Regions from separate parts of the Homo sapiens genome. Here region 2 is linked to region 1. Evidence: promoter capture Hi-C in human tissues and cell types (Jung and others, 2019). All regions are on one chromosome and are shown on one strand. Each heading gives the region's core, a stretch centred on a gene start or on the middle of the fragment in contact. The rest is flanking DNA. Distances are from core to core; before and after follow the strand shown.

Region 1 (3,635 bases), core at 892-3,391:
TTATTCACTTACTGTGACAGTGCAAGTCAAGAGGTTTAAAAAAAAAAAAAAAAAAAAGAGGCACCAGCTCCTCAGTGTTCCATCTCTCCCCATGAAACAGCACCAGGTGAGTCAGGTGGATGAGACACAGATGGGAGAATTCATCTCATTTCCTACAGCACTGAACAAAAGTCTTCTGTCTCTTTATGGGGGGTGAGAGAGAAAAGGACTAGAGTAGAAAAGTGCCTCCGCTGACACCCTCAATAAAGATGTTTTAGCAGAAGTGCTCAGGAAATGCCTCAGGTGAGGTCCCAATAAGGAGGCTGCTAAACAGAGACCACTGGGTTGGGAGTGTAGACATGCAAATGAGCGTGGCTGGCCTGGGAGGCCGAATCCTTGACTACCACTCCCTCCAGGGACTGTAATGCACCGGTTATACACCAAGTTTGGTGTAGGGAGGGCACCTTCCCCTATGCCAGAAAAAGCCTTGCAATTGTCTATGGTCAAGCCTGAAAGATCACACACAGGAATTTGGGTCTGAAGTGAACCTCCTCACTTACTATAAGCAAGGCTGATTAATGCTGTCATACTATGAAGATAAATACAGTACAGTTACCAAATTCTAACACCCATTCAATATAATTAAAGGAAAAAGACATAAATACAAGGTAAGATAATGAGGAAAAAAAGAATATGTAAAAGTTTGCCACAGTTTTTTGATCTCATAACTATTAATAAAACTCTTCTGGGCACACCCTCACCTTCACTTACAACAAGTGAAAAAAATGAGTGATATATAAAAATTGGTTCCAATCTAAAATATTAGAATCACATGCAAATATTCAGATATCTGAGTTGGACAGTTAAAATAATATTTTAAATATATATATGTATACTCACGATTCATCTAAATCTTCTACAAATCCTTTACAGACGACCATATCAAGTACAACAACTGAAAAAAAAAGACAAAATGTACACAATAAATGCTGATTATTTGGCTCATACCGTATAAGCTTAGTCATCTCTGAAGTGTTTTTGACCTTTCACAACCTACCAAAAAATTCATCACTGATGCATCCCAGGGTGCAAATGATGCAAAAGCAAAGGTAGTTCATCCATTTAATAAATATTTAGTCTGTATGCAACCATATCGTGACCGGCCAAGTTCTAGGTAAGCCAATAAATCTAATACACACAGTTCCTTTTTCCTCCATATTTTCACTCTCATCTTACGTCTCTTTTTAACCATCCTATCTTTTTGGAATACAAATAGACAGCATTCTTCTTTATTTCTTTTGCTTTAGTAGCAATTACCTCTTCCGTAAAAACTCCAAATGCCATTCAAAATATTTCCCCTCAAATAGATACGTAGGAAGAAAGTCGAGCTGCAACTCTAATACTTATTACACGGCAGTGCCTGACACAGAGTGGGCTCTAAAAGGTTGTTAAGTGAGCGGACCCCAGTGAGAATGAGGGCACTCCATGCTGACGGGAGGCAGCTGAGAACCGCTGACACACACTCAGGTCCTTTTCACACCGCACAATCCCGGCGGCCTGACCCTGATCTGTCCTCGACCACCCTCTCTTGAGTACTGGTGGTAAAAATCCTTAAACGTGACAAGACTCGGAACCTAAAGCCAAGGCAAGATTTGGTCGTTAAGCTGGGACGGCGGCATCCTTCTTGCCCATCAAAGGAGTAAGCTTTATTGAAACTTCTGCCACAATGAGAAAAACACAAACACAAGGCAGCGCGCCCTTCCCACGTCCAGCATTGGTCCGGCACAGCGGCGGCGGAAGGACCCCAAGGTGTCCGCTCCGTCAGGGCCAGGCAGGGTGGCGCGGCGGGGGCGGCAGGACGCTGCCGGGAATGGGTGGGCATCTCCACGAACCCCGCAGGCCTCGCCCCAGACCCGGGTCCAATCCCGGCCCCACGGCGGGGCCAGGTCCCACGCGCCCGCCAGCGTCCCGACCGCTGAGCCCCCATTACCTGTGGCGCAGAGCCGCAGGGCCGTCCAACTCTTCCACGCTGCCATGCTAGCCCGGGAGAGCTGCAGAAGCTGACTGTGCAAAAGAGGGATAAAGACACTGGGGTCCGCCGCCTGCCCGCCCGGAAAGGGAAACGGAGCCGACCCGGAGCGGAAGAGAAGCACCGCGCTAACTACGGGGGCGGGGCTACCCGGCCAGTCTCCGTCTCCGGCTATGCGCGGGAGTGCGGCGCATGCGAGGGGAGTGCGGCGCATGCGACAGCGCCTGCGCAGTCATGTCTTAAGAATCCTTTGCGCTCTCGGTGCCCCCCTCCACGCCCAGGAGCGTGGGAACCCTGCTTAAGGGCTTTACTAGGGAAAACGGTGCTGGTTCACTGGGGCGCGTTTCCGGGAAGGTGAATACCGGTGAAAGTTATGCTGAGGGTGAGGTAGGCTCTGACGACGCACTTGCAGGTTGAATACTGGCACATCATTTACTTGTTACTCCCGTGTGGTGAGTGCACCTGTGGGTTTTGATGCTGGATCAAATTCCTGGAAAGAGGCGCGCATTAAGACTGCGGATTGCTGAGCTGCGCGACACTCCGTATTTTTCCAAAACGTATTTGTAATATTCTTTCAACCTGTTTGCATAATGGGACATCTCTTAAATGCAGCAAGCTTTAATGCATTTTTGCCAAAGTAAGGATTGCCTCTTTAAAAACTTTCTCTTGAAACTTGAGAACATGAAGTTAAGCGTAGGATATTTTTTGATGGCTCTTTTCTGATTATTTTGGAACTAGATAAAGTAGTATGAAATATTTATATTGCTACCTGTTTTTTCTTCTATACGACAATGATTTGTAAAAACCATATACTTTTATAAGACGGTTACTGCAGCAATCACTACTTACGAACTAGATGAAATTTTTATGGGACATAAGGTACCAGAGAATTTAGATCAAACCAAATTTTGAAAACCTGTGACAACAACAGAAGGGGGATATGATGTCAGCCGGTTCACCTTAGGTTCAAAATTCCAACAGGCAAAAATGTCATAAAACGTCGTTATTCCTAGTGACTAGAAGATTAAATTGCACTCTAATTGAGAGCAAGCCCTAAATGTCACCCCCTTTGTGCATGCAGCATGGTATCCAGCGCAAGCCCTCTACAGATTCAATTTTTCTTTTTCTTTCTCTTTTCCTTTTTTTCTTTTTTTTTTAAGAAAAAAGTAGACTAAAACGTAAGGGGACTGTTGAAATGATGGGAATGTTCTCCCGGTGGTGGTGGAACAGCTTTATAATAGTACCATCGCCTCGATACTCTTATACAGAAGCTTTTCTACTTTCTTGGCAAGGTCTCTGAATGACCCATATTCAATTTTTTTTTTTCATTCTCATGTATTTCAAAGTTTTCTGTCTTCCACAGCATGCAAAGTGAAATAATTTCCTCTTATATTTGCGTTACAGTTTAAGTTCACATGTGGACAACAACAAAAGCCAGTTGACCTAGATCTGTGCTTTTCAGTAGTGTAGCCACTAACCACATGTGGCTATTGAGCTTTTGAAATGTGCCTAGTGTGATGAAATAACTGAATATTTATTTTTTTTAATTTCAGTAAACTCAAAAACTGACACTCGATTCAGCTATTGGAAAGTTTTTTTAATGTGGTTGGAACAACTGAGGTATGTG
Region 2 (3,608 bases), core at 12-2,511, 1.4 Mb before region 1:
AATTAAATGTTAAATGTTGTAAATTTTAAAATATTACAATCAAATAATACATATTTGAAAGTGACAGCATAGAATTATTTTAATTACAGCTTTAGCTAATCGTTACTACAACCACCTTATAGACAAGATTTATTAAGATATGCAAACACAGAATGCCTCCATATTCTGATGGCATCCAATATTGAGCAAAGCCCTGGTTCCTTGAACTCTCCCCAGAATTATCTAGCACAAGCCCAAATTCTATAATTAACCCTTTCTAACAGTCTGTTATTGTGATGTGTTCTCCTTCACTGCAATGAGTTATCAACCTCACTTCTTCACCTATAGGTGGTTCCTGGCAGTCTTTGAGTGAAGAGCACTGACAAATCCAATTAAACTTTAAACAGAAATGAGATTTCTGTTAGCTATGCAAATTGTATACTGGTAATATTGTATACTGGTGTATACTGGTAATCCCTCTAACCCCATTTCTAATGCCAGTTGGGATGATAGCACTACATCATGTTTGGCAATGAAAAGTAAAATAGGCTAACAATAGCTGTGAAGAGTTCTTTGAGCTCACACAGTGATAAATCTACTTTTAAGTTCTCCCTTAATGTATTTTAGTACAATTAATTAGTACTATAGAACATATAAATGTTTAACTGTGTTCATTTTGTTTACTTCTAAATATTAATAGTCACACTAACATTGTTTTATAGTGATTTAGTTTTATAGTACATAATACTTGTTATAAATTAATGAGTTTTTGGTACATAAATATGTTTAGTAGGCTATTAGTAGCAAGATGGAATATTTCAGATGATTATTGCATTTGCATTAATTTAGAATTATTAAAAAATGATCTGGCTAACTAGAGTACAGCCTACAGGAATCAGATTTTAAAAAGTAATGTTAACATTCCAAATGTTTTTATATATTCTCAAAATTCCACTCGATTATGGGGACCAAAGTGGATCATATGTAGATTAAAAGCCTGATAATATAAGAAATATATACAAGAAATCATGAAAATTTGCTTCATTAGTAAATGTTTAATCAAGTATAGATTTGTATAATTTTTCTATCATGATCAAATGTGGATATTTTGAATGCCATTGTAATTTTCAGTAAATGTTGAATTTTTTCCTAAATATTTGAGTCATACTTCAATTTCAGCCTATTTAAGATTGGAATTTCTTAACATTCTAATAAACTGTTGAATTTTATACCATTATATTATTTTGCTTGTATTGAACAAAATGTCTTTACCATTTCAGGTCTATTTTAACCTTCACTGATTAAAATAATAATAATTGGTGTTTCCTTATATCTTAATTAGTCAGCTAAGGCCTATCACAATACAAAGTAGTTGTTCTTTTCATCTATATTTATTTTTTAAACCTTAACTTATAATTTTATCTAATTATTATGTTTTCTGTAATCAAGACAATCATCAAGTCTCTAGACTTTATAGCTTTACCATTATTTTCTCATCATTCAAAGATGAACATTTTCAATGCACATGTCTGCAAATCAGACAGATATGCATATTGGCTCAACCTGAAATATAGCACATACTTTTTGAATTAAATATATTGCCGTCATTACTTCTTTTGTCATTTTACTTTTTTAACTTTATTCCATATTTTTCACTAATTTAAAATGTGTTCAATTATTTTATTCGTAATAATCTTTCTATTTTAAGTACTTTAAATCCCCATTTCTTTCTTTTTTTTTTTTTTTTTTTTTTTTGAGTCGGAGTCTCGCTCTGTCGCCCAGGCTGGAGTGCAGTGGCGGGATCTCGGCTCACTGCAAGCTCCGCCTCCCGGGTTCACGCCATTCTCCTGCCTCAGCCTCCCAAGTAGCTGGGACTACAGGCACCCGCCACTACGCCCGGCTAATTTTTTTTTGTATTTTTAGTAGAGACGGGGTTTCACCGTTATAGCCGGGATGGTCTCGATCTCCTGACCTCGTGATCCGCCCGCCTCGGCCTCCCAAAGTGCTGGGATTACAGGCGTGAGCCACCGCACCCGGCCAAATCCCCATTTCTTGAGCCAGAAATTTATTTTGCCTGTATGACAAATTTCATGGAAAACCATATCATATGCTTTTATAAAAAGAAGTCTATTTAAATATATTTACAAATGTCATCCAGTATACACTATATTTTTCCAACTCCATTGGAAAAATTGCTACTTTAAAATATAGCAATCACTAAAACCTGTTAACTGTATCTACTCCTATTTCAGTGAGAGATGGTAGGTAAACAATAGAAATAAATTAAACAATAAATATTTAATGCCTAATATACATTTGGAATTATTAAGAAAGCAACTAATACTGATTCTGAAAAGAAAACATTAAACAAAAGCAAGATGATGTTATTAATGATTTGTCCTAATTCTTTCTTTACTCTATCTATTAAAGTTTTCTTTAATAAAGAACACTACCTTCGAAGAATGCTAGCATGCCAAGGAATAGACTCTCTTTTGTTGAATTATAGTAATAAAACACCTCTTGTTGATGGAGTGAAGAGAAGTTATATTTACTTTTCAAAAGTGTGTGTGTGTGTGTGTGTGTGTGTGTAATTTTTCACTGAGCAAAAAGAGAATGAGATATGTTGTAAACAGTCATGTTTTATTTCCCAGTTATGTTTAGGATTGAACACAGTTAAGCTGCTCTCACAAAGAGATGCAAAAATGGAGATGCACAATAAAAGTAGAAGTATATTTCTGTCTCATGTCATTGCAGTCAAGTAGATAAATAGTCCAGAATAGATAGGTAGTTACTCTCCACTGGGTTACCATGGGAGGTAGTAGTTATTTGCTTTTCCTTAAATATGTCTCCAAACGCTATGGTCTCTCAAACATAATACTGGGTAAAAGGAAGTTTATACTAAACAGCCATACCAACTAATTAAATCTGTGTGACACATAGAAACCGTTTTTGTTTCTCTGAATTTAACTCCTAATAGTATGTTTTATCACAGCATTTTTATTTAGCATTTTTAAAAACTTCATCCATAAAAATTCCATATTTATTTTTACAATCATAATTTAGCGAAGATAAGCAAATGTCTTTCTACTAAACTTTGGGAAATCTAGCTCAATGGTTCAACCTGAAAATAGTTCACTTAAATTTCAAACACAGTGTTTGGAATGGAATAAGTAACAACTTGTCAACTGAACAATGACAGAGTAAACCTGAGAATCAGTTACAAAGACTTGGTAACATATAAGAATCACACTTGTTCTAATGTTATTCTTAGAAGCTATTCATCTGACATTTGCCTGATTTTCACTTGTCCTTTAAAGGGAAAGATCTTATTGGTTACAACAACACATACATCCAATTCAACTGAATGTAATGTGTCCTTGTAAATTACTATATTGGCAGTGTAGGTTATGTAACTTTCTCCTCTCAGATTATATACTTTGAGTTTACCCCCAGGAATCTACTGTTGGTGTACATTCAAATGTATTTTTGATACTGCACAACTCAGGAACAAATTCAGGATCATAGTGATTTTATTGACAAAAATTATCTCATTAATATTTATTAAATACCATCTATGTGCCAAACATTGCATGAGGGACAGAGTGAGGCAGAACTGAAGAAAATATATA

Evidence for each region. The method cuts DNA at HindIII sites, captures the fragments that hold promoters and counts their contacts. A contact is called where the count stands out against the background at its distance.
Region 2: a contact is called between a fragment that was not itself captured here and the fragment with the promoter of TMX3 in region 1, in 1 of the 25 tissues and cell types used here (H1 embryonic stem cells).

What each region holds. Positions count from the first base shown.
Region 1 is chr18:68,712,967-68,716,601 of GRCh38, forward strand. TMX3 (thioredoxin related transmembrane protein 3) reads right to left here and starts at 2,142. Exons shown (of 16, transcript NM_019022.5): 1 at 1,970-2,142; 2 at 880-934. The coding sequence starts at 2,015. It also overlaps a transcript of CCDC102B not described here. RefSeq lists silencers at 1,790-1,889, 2,070-2,199 and an enhancer at 2,400-2,469. The HindIII fragment of the contact is 1,612 bases long and covers 1,340-2,951 here.
Region 2 is chr18:67,323,708-67,327,315 of GRCh38, forward strand. No RefSeq gene overlaps it. Among named protein-coding and RNA genes, the nearest start is that of DSEL-AS1, 190 kb to the right of the region's middle. The HindIII fragment of the contact is 7,158 bases long and covers 1-3,608 here.